Linked DNA regions of Homo sapiens: region 1 is linked to region 2. The links are contacts of gene promoters, found by promoter capture Hi-C in blood cells and fetal thymus (Javierre and others, 2016). All regions are on one chromosome and are shown on one strand. The core of a region is centred on a gene start or on the middle of the fragment in contact, and the rest is flanking DNA. Distances in the headings are between cores, read along the strand shown.

Region 1 (5,556 bases), core at 401-2,900, 250 kb after region 2:
TTCTATGTATACTTTTCTCATTGTTGACCCTAACTTATTATGACCCTTACTTATGTTTATTCTTTCCCTTGTCAACTTCTTAAGCTTAACAGCATTTTAAGCTTAATAACTCTTCCTTAAACAGAACAAGTGCATTGGCATACTCCCATCACCCTCTAGACTTTCCTACTAACAGTTTCCCACTCCTCTTCCCTACCATGCTTCTGGTTTCGGGTTATATTTCTGAATTATCTATGATATATAAATTTTTCAGGAGGAGGGATTGCTAATTTAGGTAACAATATACTTTTGTAAGATACGTTTCTCCCCTTTACCTTGCATATCTCATTACTTCATCTTGTATTCATTTCCCATCTTACTGGGGTACTTCTCTTTTTAAAATGCTATCAAGGGAGATTGCCTTCTAAAATGGTGAAATGAGGAACTTGGTGAGCCATTATCCCTTAAAAACAACAAAAATACTGGCAAAAACAACTCAAATCAACCATTTCAGAACTTTGGAAGTATACCAAAGCCACAGAAGGAACTGAAAATCATCCATCCAAGAGAAAAATACTGAACTTCAATAAGACAATGGTGTCTGTGGCATTTTAACTTGAAGCTATTCCCATCCTCTCTCCCTCTCCAGCTTGGTGGCCCAGTAGCCATGAAAAGCCAGCAGACATGGAGCTAATGGAGATGACTGACCTCTTTTGGAGCTCCATTAAAAGCCCCATGCCTAGAGCACACTCAATATTTTGTCCAAATTAGCAGCTACCTGGAAAATCTCTGTTCCCAAGATGTTGTGGCTATTTCATTTGATTCACAACTCAGCTCATGGACAAAAACAACAACAACAACAAAAAAGCTGTCCCAGGGCATTGCCAAAAACAATAGCAATCTGATGGCAATATCTCAGCTGCCTAAGTCTGTGACTCTGGTTGCAGCAAACAAGAGCCTGGCCAACAGCAATAAAAATTTAAAAGGAAGCTCTTGAGAACTAGAAAACCACAGGGAACTTTAAAAAGCTCCAACATATTCCTGGGGATGTAGAAGGCTGTACTCATATGCATGCTTGGGAAAGACCTTGGAAAGAAGAAGGCCCCACTCATTCACCTCTGGCTGAACCTGAGTCCCTGTACAAGCAAAAAGTGAAAGCTAAGGCTGTCTTATAAACTACCTGAAGTGTGAAGCTGTGCCTTCAGCTACAGATCCCCTTGGCAAATGGTGAAAGATATACAGACAAAGCATTTAGGGAAATCTTCAGACCAATCATTATTGGCTGACCACTAAATTATACTGACCTAGGACTGAACCCTAGGAAACCAGACTTAAAAATGAAAATAATAACCCTTCTTTAAAATGCTAACAGAGAACTCAGGACCTGCATATTGCAGGGAATATAGAATCTACAGAATTAGTCCAGGAAAGGCACTAAGCACATAAGAAGCAAACAGGAAAGCAATGACATAAAAAGCAGCAATAGCAACAAACCTGGGGGAGGGTATCTCATACCATGTTGTTACAATATACTATCTATCTTAGTCTGTCATATTGCTATGACAGAATGCCTGAGACTGGGTGGGTAGCTTATTTTTAAAAAGATAGTGGGCCTAGTGGCTCATTCCTATAACCCCAGAACTTTGTGAGACTGAGGCAGGAGCAGTGCTTAAGCCCAGGAGTTCAAGACTAGTCTGGGAAACATAGTGAGACTCCATCTCTACAAAAAAAATAAAATACTAGCCAGGCATGGTGGTTCACATCTGTAGTCCCAGCTACTTAGGAGGCTGAGGTGGGAGGATTGCATGAGCCAAGGAGGTCAAGGCTACAGTGAGTTGTGATTGCACCACTGCATTCCATCCTGGGTGACAGAGCAAGACCTTGTCTCAAAAAAGAGAAAGGAAAAAGAAAATAGGTTTATTTGGCTCATGATTTTGATGGCTAGAGAGTTCAAGATTGGGCATCTCTATTTGATGAGACCTTGGGCTGCTTCAGCTCATGGCAGAAAGCCAGGGGGAAGTGAGCATGTGCAAAGAGATCACATGGCGAGAAGGGGAGCAAGAGAGAGGAATCGAGGAAATCAGACCATTTTAAACAACGTGCTTTCATGGGAACTAATTGATTCCCACAAGACGGAAAACTCACTAACCCCCATGGGAAAGCATGAATATATTCATGAGGAATCCACCCTCACGACCCAAACATCTCCCACTAGGCCCACCTCTCAACACTGCCACATTGGGGATCAAATTTCAGCAAGAGTTTGGACGAGGACAAAATATAACCGAGCCATAGCACTATCAAAAATGTTCAGTTTCGGCCGGGCGCAGTGGCTCACGCCTGTAATCCCAGCACTTTGGGAGGCCAAGGTGGGCAGATCACGAGGTCGGGAGATGGAGACCATCCTGGCTAACATGGTGAAACCCCATCTCTACTAAAACTACAAAAACTTAGCCGAGCGTGGTGGTGGGCGCCTCTAGTCCCACCTAGTCGGGAGGCTGAGGCAGGAGAATGGTGTGAACCCAGGAGGCAGAGGTTGCAGTGAGCCGAGATCATGCCACTGCACTCCAGCCTGGGTGACAGAGCAAGACTCCATCTCAAAAAAAAAAAAAAAAAAAAGTTCATTTTCATCAGTAATTTATAAGACATGCAAAGAAACAGAAAAGTATACCACATACACAGTTAAATAAACAGCCGTCAGAAAATATCCCTTAGGGCACACAGATGTCAAGTTTAGTAGACAAAGACTTTAAATCAACTATTTAAAATATGTTCAAAGAATGAAAGAATACCATGCCTAAAGAATTCAAGAAAAAGATGACAACAATATCTCACCAAATAGAGAATATCAACAAAGAAATAGAAATTACCCCCAAAAAAGCCAAATAGAAATCCTAGAGTGGAGAAATACAATAACTGAAATGAAAAATTCACTAAAGGGGATTGATAGCAAATTTGAGCTGTCAAAAGAAAGAATTGGCAAAGTCAAAGATAAGTCAGTAAAGATTATCTATCTGAGGAACAGAGTAAAAACAGAATGAAGAAAAATAAACACAGCCTCAGAGACCTGTGGGATATCATCAAGCATACCAACATATATTTAATGAGTGTTCCAGAAGAAGAAAAGAAGCATAAAGAGAAATAAAAAATATTTGGAGTAATGACTAAAAATTTCCCAAGTGTGGGGAAAACCGCTAGTGTACATACCTCAAGAAGCTTAACAAACCCCAACTAGAAAAACTCAAAGAGATCCACACTAGACACATCATAGTCAAGTGGGTGAAAGTCAAAGACAAAAAGAAAACCTTGAAAACAGCAAGAGGAAAACAACCTATTGTGTCCAAGAGATCTTCAGTGAGATTGACAGCTAACGTCTTATTAGAAATCATGAAGGCAGGAAGACTGGGATGACAACTTCAATGTGTCAAAAGATTCTCAATCAAGAATTCTCTATACAACAAAACTCTACTTCAAAAATAAAGATGTTAAGATATTTCCAGATAAACAAAAACTGAGAGCACTCATCACTAGTAGAGCTTATCAGAAATACAAAAGGGAGCCCTTCAGGCTGAAATGAGAGGACATTAGACAGTAACTTGAATCCACATGAAAAAATAAAAAGCACCAGTAAAGGTTACTAAATGGATAAATATAAAAGGCAGTATAAACATATTTTTGTTTATAACTCTTCTCTCTTTCTGATTTAACTCTTTCTCTTTTTAAAATCAACTGCATAAAGCAATAATTATAAAACTGTACTGATAGCTGTATAAAGTATAAAGATGAAATTTGCATAACCATATTGGCACAAAGAAGCAGGGAGGGAACGGAGGTATATTGGAGCAAAGATTTTGTAGATTACTGAAATTAAGTTAGTATTAATTTGAAGTAGTTTTTTTGGAAATTAAAATGCTAATTGTAATCCCTAGGGCAGACACTAAGAAAGCAATTTGTTAAATGGTTTCAAAGAAGATCTTGATGTGGTAAATGTTTTGAGAATTTATGTGCCTGAAAATATTTTTAATTCATAATCACATTTTAATAGTAGTTAGAATGCATACAAAATACTAGGTTTTGAAACGCTCTTGTCCTTCAGTCATTTGAAAATATTACTCAATTGTTTTCAGTTTGATGTTGAGAAGTTTGATGTCAATGTGGTTATTGTTTCTTTTTCTCTGGGAGCTTTTAGAATTTTCTGTCTCAACAACGACTAAATAATAGCATATTTAGGAATGAACTTAACAAAAAACGTACAAGACCTATATAAAGAAAACTTTAAAATTCTATTGAAAGACAAAAAAAGAAGACTGAAACAAATGAAAAAGTTTAGTTGAAAAGAATGAATAAGACCTTGTATTTGATAGCACAATAGGATGACTATAGTCAATAATAATTTAATTATACATTTAAAAATAAGAGTATGATTGGATTATTTGTAACACGAAGGATAAATGCTTAATAGGCTAGACAGCCCATGTTACATGATGTGATTATTATACATCGCATGCCTATATCAAAGCATCTCGTGTACCTCATAAATATATACTCCTATTATGTACCCACAAAAGTTAAAATTAAAAATTAAAACAGGCCTTGGCTAGGCACAGTGGCTCATGCTTGTAATCCCAGCACTTTGGGAGACTGAGACGGGTGGATCACTTGAGGCCAGAAGTTCGAGACCAGCCTGGCCAACATGGCGAGACCCTGTCTCTACTAAAAATACAAAAAATTAGCTGGGCATGGTGACACATGCCTGTAATCCCAGCTACTCAGGAGGCTGAGGCATGAGACTCGCTTGAACCTGGGAAGTGGAGGTTGCAGTGAGCTGAGATTGTGCCACTGCACTCCAGCCTGGGTGATAGAGCAAGACTCTGTCTCAAAAAAAAAAAAAAAAAAAAAAATTAAGACAAAAGAAAAAGTTTACCATTTTCAATAGGCGATTCAGCATCACAAAGATGGTCTACATTCATTTGTACATTTAATGCAGTACTAATAAAAATATTAGCTGGCTGGCTTTTGTTGTTGCTGCTGTTTAGTTGATTGCTCTGTTTGGAACTAGAAAAACTGATTCTAAAGTTGATATGGAAAAATAAACAAGAATAGCTATGAAGACTAAAAGAGAAGTACAGTGAGATTGGACCAGCCCTAAAAGATGTAAAACCACATGAATAGACATACTGACAGAACAGAAAATTTTCATGAAGAAAAGGACTAGTCAGTAAGTGATTTGGAGACAATTGGGCAACCATAGTATGGGAGGGAAAAAAAATGGATTCCTATCTCACACCCTACACCAGGAAAAACTCCAACGGGCTCAAAAACAAAAAGTAAAAAGTGAAACTATAAAATGATATGAAACCAGGCCGGGTGCAGTGGCTCACGCCTGTAATCCCAACACTTTGCGAGGCCGAGGTGGGGAGGATCGCTTGAGCCCAGGAGTTCAAGACCAGCCTGGGCAACATAGTGAGACTCTGTCTCTACCAAAAATACAAAAATTAGCCAGGAGTAGTGGCATGCACCTGTAGTACCAGTTACTCAGGAGGCTGAGGTGGGAGGATCGCTTGAGCCCGGGAGGCA
Region 2 (5,118 bases), core at 1,175-3,674:
AGTTTCAAATCATGAAAAGACAAATGGAGGGCAGGAGTGATACTCGTCGGGTACCGAACTGACCCCAAACTACAAACAGTTCTTTGCCATCTCCCAAGGGATTTGTAGGTGTGGAGTTGGAACTTCCCAGGAACTGGGCCGGGGTCCCCAACCGCGAGCCCAGCTGCAGCCTTGGGAAAGGGGGGTGGGTGCAGGTGAATCCCAGCGTCCAACCCAACGAGGGGGAAGGCAATGAATGTTTGCGTTTGGATCCAGGGTTAGCGGAGACCTATCTGCAAATGTTCTGCCAAACCCCCTCCCGGGAACATTTCTCCTGCTGCTTCTTGGCTTCGCAGAGAGCACTGGGCGCAAATTCGGGCGTCCACCACGAGCGCCACGCGAGCGAGTGGACCTGCTCTGAGCCCTCCCGGGTCCCGGGCATCGGCGAACGCGCCTCCCGCCGTTCCCTCGACCCGCGCTCCTATGAACTCGCCGCTGCGAGGCCCAGCAGCTCCCGCCCGCGGCCCCACCCGCCGCCGGCTCCGCCGCCGCACCCCACTCACCCACGCACTCGTTGGCTTCGCGGGCTGTGGCGCGCTGCCAGGGCCGGTCGTAGTGGAAGGGCTTGCAGCGGTCGCACTCCGGGCCGGCCGTGTTGTGCCTGCAGTCGCACACCAGGCTGTCGTCGCGGTCGCGCACGCAGCGGGCCGCGTGGCCGTTGCACTTGCACCGGCCGCCCACCTGCAGGTCGGACACCGCGTAGAAGTACGAGTCGCGCGCCAGCTCCGAGTCGTCCTCGTTCTCGTCGCCGAACGTGTGCAGGCGGCTGAAGGCCACGCGGATGTCTGTGGCCGTGACCCAGTCCTGCAGCACGGGCGAGTTGTCGAAGTCGTGCGCCGAGGGCCGCCCGTCCAGCGTGCTGAAGGCGATGAGGCCGCCCGAGAGCGGGCGCATGTCGGTGTGCGAGTCGGTGCACACGGCCTCCTGCTCGTTCTGCTTGGTGATGGGCGCGCGGTGCGGCCGGTTGTACATCTTGCGGCACTGCGTGGAGTAGAACTGGAAGGGCACCCACGTGCGCCCGTAGTCCATGGACTTGTAGATGGCCATGGACTCGGGCCGCGGCGAGCAGAACTGCAGGCTCACGTAGGTCACTTCGAACTTCTTGCCGAGGGACAGTGTGAGCGTGACGTTGTGCGGGAACTGCAGGTAGTTCTCGGACTGCCAGCACGTCAGGTTGTGCGGGTTGTTGAGGTCGGTGAGGAAGGCGGGCGGGTGCGCCTTCTTGGGGTCGGACGCGTTGCAGAGGTGGCACGAGCGCAGCCGCTCCTCGCCGCGCTCGCTCACCACGCAGTAGCGCGCCGGGGGCCGGCCGCAGGTGCTGGACACGCGCACGTCCTTGCCGAAGGCCGCATTGACAAAGTCCGGGATGCAGCGGCGCGGGTGGCCGTTCTCGTCCGAGCAGGGATCGGGCTGCGCCGCCTGGCCCGCGAACATGCTGAGCCCGGGCCCGCCGCGCACCGCGCCCACCAGGCACGCCACCGCCGCCAGCGCCGCCAGCGCCTCCCACACTGCGCGCATCATGCTGCGTCCAGCTTGCCCCGGCCCTGCCGCGCCGAGGATCTGTCCGCCTGCCGCAGAAGGCGCCTGCGGAGAGAAGGGAGCTGCGCTCAGCCAGCCCGCCCCGCGCCCTCCAGCTCTCGGCGGGGTGGCGAGCGGAGATGCGGGAGAACGCCCGGCTTCCTGGGCACCCACCCCGCAGCCGACTGCCCGCCTCTCTCCCCCAAAGTCCCGCGGGCGGCGAAGCCGGGGCCCTCCAAGTCCGCACCGCTCGCGCCCCTTCTTCCCCGCCCGGCGGGAGAACGCTCTGCTTCCCCGCCACCGCCGCCCCCACGCCGCCCGAGGGGCATGCCTGAGCCGGTCTCCCCGTCCGCGACCAGCCCCCCTCGCACCCCAAGTTTCGGGCGCAGGAGAGCTGGGGGACCCCGACTCTGCACGGCCCGCGCCCCTTCGTCTCGCAGCCCGGGGTCCCTCTCAGATGCCCCCCGATCGCGTCCCCGCCGGAAAGTCCGCGTTCGGGACTTTACCTCTGGAGGGGGCAAAAGAGAAAGAAAAGTTTGCCTGGCCCCTCCGGGGAGCCCGCGCGCCGGTCGCCGGAGAGCCTCTCGCTCGCTGCTAGCAGGCGCGTCCCGCCTCAGCGCGGGCTTGCCAGCTCCATGCCCGGCGCGGCCGCCGCTGCCCCAGCCCCAGCCCCGGTCCCGGCCCCGCCGCCGCCTCTCTCGCCCGAGTGACTACGCGGCCGCCCGGCTCCCGCCGCTCCCGCCGAGCTCGGAGTGCTGCCCTGCCCGCGCCCGGGGCGCACACACACTCACGCTGGCCGGCGCGCACTCACACACACGCGCGCTCGCCCCCGAAGGCTCCGCCGCCGCCGCCACTCGCGCTGGGAGTGAGGGGCGGAGGGGAGCGCGGGGGCGGGGGGCGGGGCCGCCGGGCGGGGCGCCGGCCAATAACGTCCGCGAGCTGCCGCCAGCTCCGAGCAAAGTTTTCACCCCGGGAAAGAAGAAAGTTAAAGGGAACCGGCCCGGACGCCCGAGAGGGAGAGCACAGGCGGGTGGGAACCCGGGAGCCCGAGAAAGAACAGCAGAGACAAAGAGAAAGCGAGGAGAGCACCCGGGGAAACCCCGGAGAGGGGGCTGGGCCGGGCCAGGCGCGCACCCCGTGGGGGAGGAGGGGCCGCCGGGGACTGTCAGCCTCGCCCGCGCCCCGCGCCGCCCGGAGAGCCTCACGCCCGGGGGAGCGCGCGGGCGGGGGAAGGGGGCCACTTTCTCCCTCCCGGTCCCAGCCAAACACATCTGTGTTTGTTTTCTTTGCTGCGCGGAGGTCGGGCCTTCCTCTAACCCAGCCTGATGGCCCCCGGTGGCACCGCGCACAGGGCTGTGCCCCTGTGGGCACGCAGCCCGGGAGCGTGAGGAAGAGGAGGAGGATGTGACCTCTGCCTGCTCTCCATTTTTGCCCGAAGCCCCCGGGGTCCGGCGAGGAGGGGCTGCTCGCCCGCACTCCCACGGATATCACCGTGCGTGAGCCTGTCTGTCGGGAACGCGGCTTCGTTCTAGCCAAGGGAGCAGTGGTGGGCAGGAGGCTGAAGGGGTAGGAAGCTGGCAGCACCTGGACGCTGGCCACCGCCCCTCCAAGACGGGCCTGCCTGGTCTCAGGCATGGGGACAGCCCAGCCCTCCCCAGATCCCCTGAGGCAGGCGTATCGGTACTTCCTCAACCGCATTTTTAAGGGTGCAAAGCCCTGTAATAGCTCATGGGACCTCCACAGCAGCTTTGCTGTTGTATTAACTCCATTTTGCAGATGAGGAAACTGAGGGTCCCGGGAGCTGAAGAAACTCGCACAAGATCAACCCCCAAGTAAACATCAAAAACAGGAAGAGAAGCCTGGGCTCCTTCCACTGCAGGGCATTCGTCAAATGCATAACCTTGCCGAATGATGGTGTCATGGGGCATCTGCGGGGCCACCCAGCCCCTCCTTGCCTCATTCTCCATCGCCCCAATAAAAAGACTGAGGACAGTGACAGCATCCTTTGGTCATCTTGCAACAGCAGCCAGAGAGCTCTGGGAAAGGAATACACTGGGCCGAGAGTTTGGAACGGAATCTCTGCTCGTTTATTTGTTACTTGTAGATGTGTGGTCCAGTAATAGACCCGGATGAAAAGCCCCAGGTCCTGGTTCCGGCCCAAGGGCTGCCTTGCTGCATTAGCTCCATTAAGTGCCTCAGTTTGTCTTATTGGCATTTTCATAAACCCTGAGAATCTAAGAAGGGGCCTCGGGGCTCGTCTGGCCCAGCTCCGTCTCCTTGGAAGAAGGCCTTCCCCAGCCTCCCAGAGAGACGGCCACCCAAGCCAGCTCTTCCAGGGATGGGAGCTCACCACAGCTCAAGAAAATAAATCCATTCCATTGCAGGACAGCCTGGATTCATCTTCTTACCCCGGGGTAGCAATTTAGCTGTGCCTTCTTGTGCCGTTTACCACACTCTGCACTGTTTATTTATGCCTTACCTCACCTTGTGGCAGAAAGGATTTCAGGTAACTTACAAGGGTACATAAAATATGACACAATAACAAATTAAAAGTGAGGTCAAAGGAAATAAATGAAATGGTTAACCATGGTGACCTGTGAAATCGCAATGGTATACTGAAAGGCAGCATAGCTCTTAGGAGGAAACGCTTCGGAGCCAGGGTACCTGGGTTCAAATTCTGCCTCTGCTGTGTGACTATGGAAAGTCTATGCCTTGGTTTCCTCCATCTGTACAAGGGAGATAATACTTTCTACCCCACTGGGTTGTGAGCATCACGTGAGTTGACACATTTGAATATTATAGCTGATGGGATATAGACATACATATTGCAGGTCTGTAACACATATAAATAGGCTTTCTCATGTATGCAAATGTAAATATGCATAAAACCAGGCACATAGTACATGCATATAGAAATGTTAGCTGTTAGTATGAGGTCGCTTGATCTATACAGAAATTTTAAATCATTTAGAGAACACTTAATTACAGGGAAAGATGTTCATGACATATTATAATATGAAAAAAGCAAATTAAAAACACACAGTATAATGTCATTTTAATTTTTTAAAAAGTATGCATAAAAAGACAACACAGTTAATAGTGGTTATCTCGGAATAATGAGATTACAGGTGATTTTTATTTATCTTTGCTTGTATGCTCTCAGTTTTGCACAGTAAAATATGAAGTAAGAGAACAAAGAAAAGCTAAGAAGGGAGACAAAGTCGAGAGGAGGATACAGGTCCAATGCACCCTGGAGTTCCAACCTCTACACCTCTTCTGAGTGGGCCACAAATTTGTCCCTAAGCTTTCCTGCAGCTAAAATGAGGAGACCATGTTCATTACACAATTCCCAGTGTCCATGAGATAAAAACAGACCTACTGCTCAAGGGAATTACAACTATTCTTGGTACTAAAATCAGATAGGAATTTCTTGTGGGGGCGTGGCCCAGAAAGGGAACACAGTATGGGGTAATGAGCAAACGTCCCTGACAACATCCCCAAAACAGTCACAACAGTGAGCTCGGTTGGACAGTTTCTGTGATCCCCCTGAATGTAAGCTGA

The links. Contacts are between HindIII fragments. The CHiCAGO score rates a contact against its expected background, and 5 or more counts as called.
Region 1: a fragment that was not itself captured here is called in contact with the fragment with the promoter of NTN1 in region 2 in 2 of 17 cell types (total CD4 T cells and naive CD4 T cells); the score reaches 5.7 in total CD4 T cells.

The regions. Positions count from the first base shown.
Region 1 is chr17:8,771,953-8,777,508 of GRCh38, reverse strand. No RefSeq gene overlaps it. Among named protein-coding and RNA genes, the nearest start is that of SPDYE4, 16 kb to the right of the region's middle. The HindIII fragment of the contact is 3,094 bases long and covers 104-3,197 here.
Region 2 is chr17:9,018,816-9,023,933 of GRCh38, reverse strand. It overlaps NTN1 (netrin 1), which reads right to left and starts at 2,424. Exons shown (of 7, transcript NM_004822.3): 1 at 2,349-2,424; 2 at 543-1,623. The coding sequence starts at 1,560. RefSeq lists silencers at 2,173-2,962, 3,013-3,062 and an enhancer at 2,483-3,026. The HindIII fragment of the contact is 7,248 bases long and covers 1-4,863 here.